Regions from separate parts of the Homo sapiens genome. Here region 1 is linked to region 2. The links are contacts of gene promoters, found by promoter capture Hi-C in blood cells and fetal thymus (Javierre and others, 2016). All regions are on one chromosome and are shown on one strand. Each heading gives the region's core, a stretch centred on a gene start or on the middle of the fragment in contact. The rest is flanking DNA. Distances are from core to core; before and after follow the strand shown.

Evidence for each region. Contacts are between HindIII fragments. The CHiCAGO score rates a contact against its expected background, and 5 or more counts as called.
Region 1: a contact is called between a fragment that was not itself captured here and the fragment with the promoter of PKD1L1-AS1 in region 2, in 9 of 17 cell types (naive B cells, total B cells, M2 macrophages and 6 more). The highest score is 25.6, in naive B cells.

Annotation. Positions count from the first base shown.
Region 1 is chr7:47,485,522-47,491,869 of GRCh38, forward strand. All of the region lies in intron 3 of TNS3 (tensin 3), which reads right to left. Among named protein-coding and RNA genes, the nearest start is that of SNORD151, 24 kb to the left of the region's middle. RefSeq lists an enhancer at 2,993-3,539. The HindIII fragment of the contact is 1,892 bases long and covers 3,817-5,708 here.
Region 2 is chr7:47,790,453-47,797,076 of GRCh38, forward strand. PKD1L1-AS1 (PKD1L1 antisense RNA 1) reads left to right here and starts at 4,839. Exons shown (of 4, transcript NR_161269.1): 1 at 4,839-4,991. It overlaps PKD1L1 (polycystin 1 like 1, transient receptor potential channel interacting), which reads right to left. Exons shown (of 57, transcript NM_138295.5): 55 at 5,537-5,698; 56 at 2,175-2,345. The HindIII fragment of the contact is 8,231 bases long and covers 1-6,624 here.

The sequences.
Region 1 (6,348 bases), core at 3,513-6,012, 310 kb before region 2:
CAAGAGGTGACAACAGTGAGACAAGGAAGGGGGCAGAGCAGCTCCCGTTAGCAGCTACAGAAGGCTGGAGAGAAGGCAGTGGGTCATGGGCTGTGGGCCAAAAGCCATGGGCTGTGGCATCCCCGGGATCCGTCCCTCCCATGGTGGAGGCGAGGGCCCCTCTGAGAAGCCTGTTTGGGAGCCTCTTTATTGCCTTCTTTCAGCTATCCTGGGATCCTAATCTACTGTTCCCAAGGAAACCACAAACAAACACTGCTGTGCCTGCCCCACACCTGGCTACGTGGGTGCCTGGGTACACTGGCATCAATAACCTTGTCCCCAAGCCAGCAGGTCCACAGGACAGAGGGGCAGAGGGACAAGTGCTTGCCACCAAGTCATGACTGTGTCCTTGGGAATGTGAGTGTGTGGGTGAGCGTATGTGTGTGTGGATGAGTGTGAGTGTGGGTGTGTGAATGTGGGTGAGTGTGGGTGTGTGAGTGTGGGTGTGTGGAGGTGAGTGTGTGTGGGGGTGAGTGCAGGTGTGTGAGTGTGGGTGTGTGGGTGAGTGTGTGTGTGTGAGTGACTACATGTGGTGGTGTCTGTGTTTGACTAGGTATATTTTACTGTGGATATCTGCAAATATATTCTTTTGTGTGAATGTGTGTAAGTTTGAGAGTGTTGTGAGTTTGCATATGAGTGGGTGAGTCAGTAGTTATGTGCATGGGAGTGTAAAAGTGTAGGGGGTGTGAGCGTGTGTGCTTGTGAGAATGTATGAACGTGCATGTGTGAAACTGAGTTTTGTAAGTGTGTCTGTGTGTGTTTCTATGTATGCCTATGCCTCATGTGTGTGTATTGATGTGAGAGCGTGTCTGTGTGTGTCTCCGTGTGTGAGTGTATACCTGTATGTGTCTCTGTGTGTTTGTGTGTGTGCACACACAACAAAGCTTAGCCCTGCAGTTCCATCCCCCAAGGTGAATGAAAGCACTTCAGCTAACAAGTACATTCTGCCTTAGAAAGTGCTTTCATCCAAGGTGCACTGGCCCGGCCACCATTACCCCCAGTGCTAACAGACACAGGGCCTCGGGTGCAGATCTTCCTCAGTAAGGAGTGAGATCAACTCTTCAAACCTGAACCAATCCCTCTCTGCTTACTTCTGGGAGATCCAAGTCCTGGGAGAAATAAAGGACAACTCAGTTCTCCTCGTGCTTGACCGACATTGTTTTCCTTTTGATGAACACAATAAAACTCCAAACTCAGCTTTTATTGTTGTTTCTTATTAAATTTCACTTTGTAAACAGCCATATAGAAAGTGACATTTTTCCATCAGTTTCTCTAAAGCCGTGTGGGTATAGCTGATGCACTACATATTCTGTATAAACATGCATATTCTGTATAAAGAGAATAAATGTAAATTTCAATTCTATCTTTTCCAAATCATCAAAAATTCCAGTCATGGTGGGTCACGTGAATCAGCTTCCTAGAACCTCACAGAAACATGAAGTAAGGACTGAAGAGAGGCCGGGCGCAGTAGCTCAAACCTATAATCCCAGCACTTTGGGAGGCCCAGATGGGCGGATCACCTGAGGTCAGGAGCTCGAGACCAACCTGGTCAACATGGCAAAACCCCGTCTCTACTAAAAATACAAAACTTAGCAGGGCGTGGCGGCACGTGCCTGTAATCCCAGCTACTCAGGAGGCTGAGACAGGAGAATTGCTTGAACCTGGGAGGTTGCAGTGAGCTGGGATCGTGCCACTGCACTCCAGCCTGGGCGACAGAGCAAGACTCCGTCTCAAAAGAAAAAAAAAAAAGAACTGAAGCGAGCACCCTCAAGTGTCAAGCATGCTTTTACACACCCGGCAGCTACAGGGAAAGCCTGGAGGCTTGGCTCCTCTAATCGTTTCTTCCTGCTTGTTCTCCAGGTCATTCTGCCCACAGGTGAAGTCTCTACTCTACTCTGGTATCAAGCAGGCCTGGGCAAACCTTGTTCATGTCAGGATTCTGGAGGGGAGAATCAGCTCAACAATACCAACCCACAGCAATGAAACGGGCGTTCCACAAATGCACACACACCACACAACACCGAATGCAAATCCGTGGGACAGCATTCAGGTGCAAAACAAGTAGAAACTGAGTAGAGACAAACGGGCCAGCCACTGACCTTGCCAAACCTTGCAGACAAGGGAGAAAGCAATTCACTGAGTTAAGCCAAGTACAGAGACATCACCTTATGCACAAGTTCTATCATACATAAAATTACTTTAATCATAATAGTTTTAACTCTAAGATAAGTTGCAAAGACTCAGAAATGAAGTTTACTTTTATTTTATCTTTACAAAAACAATTCTTTTTAAAGAAACTTCGTGATGGCGCCAAGATGGCAGTACTTTCTTTCCTAAGTCATAAAAACAGTCAGAGGTAACCTACCTCTGAGGCCCTGAACTAGCCAGGGAAAAACAGATACGGACGCCAAATATTTGCTGACCACCAGGACCTTACGATATAATTGGGGGTTGGGACTCTTCTATAATCTCTACACGGAGTAGCAGCCTGGTTGCAAGGAGGGTGGAGCTTTTACGAAGGGCCACTTCTATTATACCACAGCTTTGACTTCTTACATTGTATGTTACTGATCAATAAACTAGCAAGATCTTTAATTCACCCATTAGTTAAGATTGAAAAAGGATGCATTGTTCATGTGTTTATATTACCATTATTATCATTTATTACAAGGGCAGGGTAAGGAGAATAATCACAGAAGGAAAGTCCCCTCATTCCCAGTGCTGACACTGACCCAAGTGTTTATCTGCTTAAATAAGCAACAGTCTTAGCTCGGGTAAGGGGCGGCTGTTGTAACAACATACCACAGAATGGGCAGCTGACACCACAGCCGTTTATCCTCCCATAGTCCTGGAGGCTAGGAGGCTGAGATGAAGATGTGGGCAGGGTGGTTCCTCCTGAGGCCTCTCTCCCGGGCCTGCAGATGGCCACCTTCTCCCCGTGTCCTCACGTGGCCATTCCTTGTGTGTGTCTGTGTCCCAGTCTTTCTAAGGACACCAGTCATACTGGATTAGGCCCATCCTAATGACCCTATTTCAACCTAATTACCTCTTTAAAGACCTTATCTCCAAATCCTGCCATACTCTGGGGTCCTGGGGATTTGGACTTCAACATTTGAATTTGGGGAAACAAAATGCAACCCCCCAGCACTAACAATCAAAGGTCTGACAGGACGGGTGGAGACGTCAGGTCGACACAGAACGTTCTGGGCACACCAACAAGAGCTGGGTCCCCCAGGTGAGGCCGGGGGCTCCTGACATGCCGAAGGTGGCCTTACTCATCATTCAAGGCTGCTTTTCCAATGGTGCCTGGGGACAGGGGGCTAGGTAGAGGGTTGAAGAGAGGCCCAGGGTCAGATTTTCAACACAAGCCTGCAAACAACAGCAGATCTATACAAAGAATGGCAGTACAAAATGAGGACATTCGAGACTTTATTAACTTTCTCTGCTTCCTTCAAGAGCTCACCCTAACTTTGCTTCTGTGTCTCCTTTGTCAGGCTTGACCCTGGAATCCCTAATTAGGTTCACATTCCTCAGGAAGCTCTGTTATCCCACTAAGCGTCAAAGCCCAATTTAGCCTGCTCTAATCCCCATGAGAAAACACCCGCCCGGCAGACGCAATTAAACCTTCTCAGCCTGCGGGCTGAGAACCGGGACAGGAGCGGAAGAGAAAGAGAAGGAAAATTCCCAGAATCAGGTCATTATATTTTTCCTTACAGTTAACAAGCAGCTAGTGAAGATCATGTCTGTGGCACAGTAAAATGAAAAAAGAAAGGCTCAAGCTTTCCCAGTCCTTGGTCTTGGCTTGGTCTCGGCTCTTCTCACCTCTAGGGGCCTCAGTTTCCCCTTTCAATCCAACTCTATGGAATCTAATAATTTTTAGACAAAAGAGTAGTGCCCCTATCCCAGATGGGCTTAGCTGAACCTACTGGAACCTTCTTTTTCATTCTTTACTTAGGCTGTGTAGCTGTTTAACATTGGCTACCTTTACCCAGTTGAGGCCCATGGCCCACAAGGCAGGGCCAGGCCTTCGCTGGCCTCAGGCAAACAAGTTACCACTGGTAGGGAATATAATAGATTTAAAGCAAAAGCATAGTATCCTGTATCCATTATGTCACCATTATTTGTCTCAGATCAGAAATCAAATGTGAACCTATTGTTGGAACAATGTCCAGGGGATTCTCGAAGTGGCTGAAAAGCACTTTCAGGATCACTTGCATGCTGTATACACAAGTCCCAGCAAAGGGCACAGCACAGGATCGCTCGGGGGCCCAAACGCCTTCCTGCAGTGAGTCTGTCTTACAAGACCAGGGCTGAGCAGGGAGGCCAAGCATCTCATGGTGCAGCCGAGGCCCGCAGAGGCAGAATCAGGGTCTACAGACCCCTGAAGGCCAACACTTACCACAGTCCTACGCCTTATCTTTTCAAAAAGAGAAAGAGGACATCTGGTGATTGATAAAATGCTAATGGCTTGCAAAAAAAGCAAGAAGAAAAACTCATAAATCATAAATCCAACCTAATTGCAGAAAGATTAAAAGGTAGTATTGAGTTGATGAACCGTCTTTTTATTAGAGCATTATAATGCCAAGGACCAAGATTTAACTGCATCCACATTACTGGATCCATTTCCACAAGGAAAATCCAGGTCCCAACTCATGCATTCCTCACCAGCTACATCTGATCAGCCTATAATTCTCACCGGCCACCTATAATTAATAATAAAGTAATAAAGTACTGACACTGACATTTGTGAGTAATTTACATTTTAATTCATCAGAAGAGACTGATGATTACCTCTACAATAACATCCCTGCATGCTATTGCCTGAATAAGTTTAGTAGGTTGTGTTTTCAAAGACGGTGGCATCACACAGGGTCTTCTGTAAAGGAACTCTGCCATTCCCCCATCAAGAGGTAGAGTCTGTCCCTGTTCCTCTTGAGTCTGGGCTCGTCCTGGGTTTGCCCTGTGGCCTGCTGTGAGTGGTGGAATATGGCAGAACTCCGAAGCCTGGCCTTAGACAGCTGCAGTTGCCGCCTTCGCCTGGAGCATCCCATTCTTGGGCCCAGCCCCCATAATGAAGGGAAGCCTGAACAGCCGCATGGAGACACCTACAAGGGGGCACCGAGGTGCCCAGTGCCAATCGTTGGAAATGGGCATGAGGGCGTTTGTGACCTTCTGGCCACCCAGTCCCCCTGTCAGCACCACATGAAGCAAGCACTGCCCAGCCAGCTCACGAATCCATCACAGCTTGTTGGTTTCAGCCACTGAGTGTACAGGGGATTTGTTAGGCAACAACAGAGAACAGAAATAGTGTGCCCAGCAATGCGCACAGCCCCAGCATGCCCAGACGAGTGTGTTGGGCACCAGAATGCCATCCTTCAGTGCTCTGTGTCGGGAAGTAGAGGAAAGGGGCTCAAAATCAGCACTTGAAAAAGCCAACAGCAGCAATGAGGCCATGAGCTGTCACAGATGAGGAGATTTCAGCCGCCGATGGTGGGGGCAAGAGGCCGACAGAGCGCGGCTGTGGCTTCAGCACGAGGCGGGCAGACATGACCCAGGACACTAGCCAGTGGGCAGAGAGGCAGAGGGGCAGCCTCTCGTCCATCTACGCTGCGATTCACCAAAAAATGCATCAGGCTGAACATGCACGGTATGTGGTGTTCTTGAATGTAAGCTTCGGTTTTAAACAAATATGTATTTTAAACCATATATATACTGTTTCAAGCCCCAGAGTGACTGGACAGAACCGAAAAAGCTCTGTCTTTGCATCCAGAGACTGAAATTAGGGCAAGCCCTCTGCTTCTCCCAGCTGGCTCTGATGAATTTACGGAGACTGTCCTCTGTGAACTCAATTTTCCTCCTCATCTGTGACATAGGGATAATACGACCTCGCGGGGTGGATGTGAACCTCAAGCTCATAGGAAAGTCTTGACAGTGGGACTATATCAAATATACACTGTCAGATTGGAGTGAGGGTGAAAGGGGACCCCACGGCCTTTCAAAGACAGCAGCATAGTTACCGAAGGCCATCTCAGTCGGCCATACAGACTTTGCCTCTCTCCTGAAACACGAACTCCATATTTTTCAGACTAGGCATTTCCTGGACAATTTTCTGATGATGAGGCTGCAGCAATGAGACTGATTCATGATAATACTTAACCAGGGGCAAAACAGACATGTCCCTCGCCCCGTCCTGTTCACCTGAAGGAAGGCAGGGAGGAACCACTGCCCAAGACCATAGGCCTGAGTGGGACGGTGAAACCCGAGAGTCATGTCCTACAGAGATGGCCCCGGGTGTATGTTGATGTGTGC
Region 2 (6,624 bases), core at 3,589-6,088:
CCCGAGTAGCTGGGACTACAGGCGCCCGCCACCATACTCGGCTAATTTTTTTGTATTTTTAGTAGAGACAGGGTTTCACTGTGTTAGCCAGGATGGTCTTGATCTCCTGACCTCGTGATCCGCCCACCTCGGCCTCCCAAAGTGCTGGGATTACAGGCGTGAGTCACCGCACCGGGCCATAACTTAAATAATTTTAACTCACTTGGAGATGACTTGATTTTCAGGGGTAGGAGGTATCTAGGTGTCAGTAGGATTATCTTTTTTTAAGTCCAGCGACTTTATTAGTGTGTGTTTTATTTTTTATTTTTATTTTTTCTGTTTTCTGTTTTTTTTTTTGAGACGTGGTCTCACTCTGTCACCTAGGCTGGATCACCCCTCACTGCAGCTTCTACCTCCTGGACCCCAGTAATCTTTCCGTCTCAGCCTCCTGAGTAACTGGGACCACAGGTTTTGTTTTTTTCTTTGGAGAGATAGGGCTTCACTATATTGCTCAGGCTGGTCTTGAACTCCTGGGCTCAAGTGATCCTCCTGCCTTGGCCTCCCAGATGCTGGGATTATAGGCATGAGCCACTACACCCACCCATGTTCTAGTTTTAATAGATGTGAATCCATTTCTTCCCTGGGACACAGTTCTTTTTTAAATATATAGGTGTATATCTCTTTTCCAGTAAAGTCTTTTAAAATTATATTTTAAAATATTTTTTTCTGTTCAAATTTTCTGGGCTTTTTTAGGGGAGACACTAATTATAGATACCCTTTCCGTGTCTTACGCACATTCTTCCTGGTCTGATTTCCATGTGTATTACTTTTCCTAAAATCAATTTTAACTTTTTTTCTCTTGCAGAATTTTCCCAAATATGTCATCCATATAGTTTATTCTCTTTTCTGTGAATCTATTTGCTTTATTTTTTTCTTTTCCATTTCTTTCCTCAACTCTGTTAATTCACTGTCTTTTTATTTCATCTTGGAGTTCTTTCATCTTGGCTTCAAACTGTCATTTCAAAGAGACATTTTTTTTTTTTTTTCATTAACTTAACCTTTGTGTGGAGAACATCTCGGTTACAATTTTTACCTGTTGATGGCAATTGTTTTCAAAGTTATACCCTTCATCTTCACTTTTGGTCATTTTTACATACTGCTTTTTCCTGAAGCAGATTTGCATAGATGCAATAATTATTTGCTTTTATTATTTCTACTCCTCTCTACATGTGGAAGTTCAACTTTTCATAAACGGTGTTCTTCCCTGGGTTGTTGTGAATTAGGGCCCGGGAAGGGCTGGGGCAGAGAGCTTATAGCAGGTACTTCATGTTCTCCTCTGCCTTCAGAGAGCTCCTTCATTGCCACTCAGTCATGTGAACATGACAGCTCTGGGCCAGCAGAGTATCTCTCTGGATCTCAGGGAAGTTACCACTGGAAGCTATTTATCTTTGGGGCATGGCACTCATCCTTCTTTTTCACTGTGTACCTGGCACATGGTGTGTCTATTGGTGTTGATTTTTCTATAGTTTGCAAGTAGTGTGACTCTAGGTCTGTGAACCACCAATAGTTCCTCCCCTAGGCAGCCACATCAACAAACAGCTTCCTACAAAGACGGCTTCCTGCACGTTTTGTCCTTCAGTCCTATGTCCCAGGAACTCTGTGGCATTAGGTCTCAGGGAGATTCCTTAAACTCTTTAGTGCTCTATAATCTATTCGTCCAAACCAGGGGCCTTTGTTGGCTCCTCCAGATACACTGTCTAACTTGGAGAATTCTGTGTGCTCTTGGAAATGGTAGCATCCTTTCTCCTTTTGGTCTAAGTTTTACTGTTCTTGGCATCCATTCTTGAGATTACTGGTCACATTCTGGGCCATAGATTTCTGGGTTTTTTTTTGTTTCTGGGAAGATCGAGTTTCCATTTCTGTTTCTCAGTCTCCTTGTTGATTTCAGTTGTAATCAGAAATAAGGGGCAGACAGATACTTATGCTACCATTTTCAACTGGAAGTCACATCATGGACTTTAAATTTTTAAGTGGTTCTTTAGTTCTGGCCAGAGCATATCTTATCAGCAGTATGATATCTAAAGAATATTTATGCAAATGGACCTTATAATTTGGAAAAACAACTATTCCAAAACTCCTTTAGAACTTAAATTGCTATGAAGAAAATTGACATAAATAATTTTGCATGGTCTTACCTCAGCAGCTTGGTAACTAGAAATGTCCACTAAGGGACTCTCTTCTGTCCTTGCCTCCCCTGTGTTGTTGGATGTTTTTTCCAGAAGGGGGAGTTGTAGGCTGTCGGACAAACCATTAATCTTCATCAGAAGTTCGTCTAACAGATTTGCAAATTCATCCAAGTAGTAATTCTGAAGGGAAGAAAATTAGATTAGTAAATGCATTCAAGAATCTCATTATCCCCCTTTCCTCATTATGTGAAGCATTTAGGGGTATCATCTGTAGACAGTATTGGGCTATGTTAGGAAACATACTGACTCTGCCTGCAGTTAGAAGACCTGGGTGCTGGGCCTACTCTTACATCTCTATATCTCAGTTGCTTCAATAATAATGTACGTATACAGATATACATGTAAATGCTACAGTTAATAATGCCTACATAAAAAAAACTATTGAATGGATTTAAAGGCAGTAATGCATCATGCTGCTATGGGAAAATAAGGTCATTCTTTCATCCCTTCGATTAATAAATCTTTATTGAGCACTATTAAAAAAATAAGGCAATAATGGATGGGGAAGCACATGACAGAGAATAAAGCCCTATCAAAATGTACAGTACCGTGATTACATATGACTGCCTTCAGAACCTTACTGGATGATGCTTAAATATCACCTGATATGGTTTGGTTGTGTCCCCATTCAAATCTCAACTTGAATTGTATCTCCCAGAATTCCTGTGTTGTGGGAGGGACCTGGGGGGAGGTAATTGAATCATGGGGGCTGGTCTTTCCCGTGCTATTCTTGTGATAGTGAATAAGATCTCATGAGATCTGATGGCTTATCAGGTGTTTCCGCTTTTGCATCTTGCTCATTTTTCTCTTGCCACTGCCACGTAAGATGTGCCTTTCACCTCTCGCCATGATTCTGAGGCCTCCCCAGCCATGTGGAACTGTAAGTCCAATTAAATATCTTTTTGTCCCCAGTTTCAGTTATATCTTTATCAGCAGCTTGAAAATGAACTAAAACAGTAAATTGGTACCAGTAGAGTGGGGTGTTGCTGAAAAGATACCCAAAAATGTGAAAGTGACTTTGGAACTTGATAACAGGCAGAGGTTGGAACAGTTTGGAGGGCTCAGAAGAAGACAGGAAAATGTGGGAAAGTTTGGAACCTCCTAGAGACTTGTGGAATGACTCTGACAAAAATGCTGATAGTGATATGAAAAATAAAGTCCAGGCTGAGGTGGTCTCAGATGGAGATAAGGAACTTGTTGGGAACTGGAGCAAAGGTGACTCCTGTTATGTTTTAGCAAGAGACTGGCAGCATTTTGCCCCACCCTAGAGATTTGTGGAACTTAGAACTTGAGAGAGATGATTTTTAGGGTATCTGGCAGAAGAAATTTCTAAGCAGCAAAGCATTCAAAAGGTGACTTGGGTGCTGTTAAAAGCATTCCGTTTTAAATGGGAAATGGAACATAAAAGTTAAAGAAATTTGCAGCCTGACAATGCAGTGGAAAAGAAAAACTCATTTTCTGGGGAGAAGTTCAAGCCAGCTGCAGAAATTTGCATAAGTAGCAAGCAGCCTAATGTTAATCCCCAAGGCCATGGGGAAAATGTCGCCAAGTCATGTCAGAGACCTTCACAGCAGCCTCTCCCATCATAGGCCTGGATGCCAAGGAGGAATAAGTGGTTTAGTGGACTGGGCCCAGGTTCCCCGTGCTGTGTGCAGCCTAGAGACTTGGTGCCCTGTGTCCCAGTTGCTCCAGCCATGGCCGAAAGGGGCCATTGTACAACTTGGGCTGGGGCTTCAGAGAGTGGAACCCCCAAGCCTTGGCAGCTTCCATGTGGTATTGAGCCTATGGGTGCACAGAAGTCAAGAATTGAGGTTTAGGAACCTCAGCCTAGATTTCAGAAGATGTATGGAAATGCCTGGATACCCAGGCAAAAGTTTTCTGCAGGGGCGGGGCCCTTATGGAGAACTGCTAGGGCAGTGTGGAAGGGACCTAGTGGAGCTGTGAGAAGAGGGCCACCATCCTCCAGACTCCAGAATGGTGGATCCTCTGACAACTTGCACTGTGCACCTGGAAAAGCCACAGACACTCAATGCCAGCCCATGAAAGCAGCCAGGAAGGAGGCTGTACCCTGCAAAGCTACAGGGGCAGAGCTGCCCAAGACCATGGGAACCCACCTCTGGCATCAGCATCACCTACATGTGAGCCCTGGAATCAAAGGAGATCATTTTGGAGCTTTAAAATTTGATTGACCTGTTGGATTTTGGACTGGTATGGGGCCTGTAACCCCTTGGTTTTGGCCAATTTCTCCCATTTGGAACAGTTGTATTTACCCAATCCCTGTACCCCCATTGTATCTAGGAAGTAACTAACTTATTTTTTATTTTACAGGCTCATAGGTGGAAGGGACTTGCCTTGTCTCAGATGACACTTTGGACTGTGGACTTTTGGGTTAATGCTAAAATGAGTTAAGACTTTGGGGGACTTTTGGGAAGGCATAATTGGTTTTGAAATGTGAGGACATGAGATTTGGAGGGGGCCAGGAGCAGAATGATATTGTTTGGCTGTGTCCCTATTCAAATCTCAACTAGAATTATATCTCCCAGAATTCCCACATGTTGTGGGAGGGACCTAGTGGGAGGTAATTGAATCATAGGGGCTGGTCTTTCTCATGCTATTCTTGTGATAGTGAAGAAGTCTCACAAGATCTGATCATTTATAATGGGTTTCCACTTTTGCATCTGGATCATTTTTCTCTTGCCACCACCATGTAAGAAGTGCCTTTCACCTCCCACCATGAACCTGAGGCCTCCCAAGTCATGTGGAAATGTAAGTCCAATTAAACTTCTTTTTGTTCCCAGTTTTGGGTATGTCTTTATCAGCAGTATGAAAACAAACTAATATATCAGCCATGAAGAAAGTGAGTATTCAGTGTGCAAACGCCTGGTTTGATTTGTTTACATGCATGTCTGGGGTGACTGAACTCAAGTAATGCACCTAAGGCTCTATGTTTTGGATAGAAGTTTGGGTTTGATAGCAGGCACCAAAAGCAAATGACTAACTCAGGGGACAGAATACAGCATGTCTGTGTCCTGGGGAAGACCATAAACTCTGTCTTTCCAACTGTACAGGTCACTATAAGGATATAGTGAGTTAAGGCAGGAGAATGTGCTTGGTAATCTGTAAAGTGTTTTAGAATTGCACGGGAAAATTCCATGAGTTCCACTATGATTGAGACTAATTTTGTGGCTTTGCAAGGAGATTTGGCATGGAAACATACTCATGCTTTGATAACTGAAAGCAAAATTCTGCAATGAAACCATCATCTTGAGTGTGTGCTATCATGCTCAGTAATCCAAGATCTCACAGCTTACGTGATTCTCAACCATCTCAGCCTCTTCCAACTTTGGTGTTTCCAGTCTCAGAAAGGTGAGGACCTTTTCCCACATATAAGCAGTGACATCTTTAAGTCTCACAAAAGATTTACTTTGAAAAGATTTTCTTTTTTGGGGTAAAGTCATGAGAAAACCTCTCAGCTAGGAAAAAGAAAAAAATAAAGACAAATTTCATGTTAGCAGCCTAAATAAAGAGCTTTGTTAACGTGATAAACTATGCAATGGAGATTATATCTGATGATGCTACTTTACGAGCTTTTGGTAAAATAGTGATTTCTTGGTGAAAAAAAGCAAAATCAGGAAAATACCTCTCCTGAATTGAACTAAATGGCAGTAAGATGATCTCAGCAATGGAAATTCATTGTATTATAAAGGTTGTTTTCAGTATCTAACTTTGGAGACTGAGATTATCAACGCGATGTGCATGCCCATATGTAAAGTCTGTGTCTCAGTTTCAGTGTCCCCTGGTGAACCATTCTGAGCTGTGGGTGAGCCTCAGGAGAGAGGCCTGTGCCTGTGCCTGGGAGACCAGAAAGGGTCTTGGGCTCAGCAAGTTGTTGTGCCCTCAACATGTGCTCTATAAGCCTCCAGGTGGTTTATTTCTTCACTGCAGGCTGTAAGCTGTTAGCTCAAAAGCCTACTGGTAACAAACTCGAATTTTTACACATCCAATTGTTTAAAAAATAACCCAAACAGGGCTGGGCGCAGTGGCTCATGCCTGTAATCCCAGCACTTTGGGAGGCCAAGGCAGGCGGATCATGAGGTCAGGAGATTGAAACCATCCTGGCTAACATGGTGAAACCCTGTCTCTCCTAAATTACAAAAAAAAAAAAAAAAAAAATTAGCTGGGTGTGGTGGTGGGCACCTGTAGTCCCAGCTACTCGGGAGGCTGAGGCAGAAGAATGGCGTGAATCCGGGAGGCGGAGCTTGCAGTGAGCAGAGATTGCGCCACTGCACTCCAGCCTGGGCGACAGAGCAAGACTCCGTCTCAAAAAAAAAAAAAAAAACACCCAAACAAACATTTTAGCCATTTAGAGCCTGTCAGCTTTACACACCCTGCAAAACCT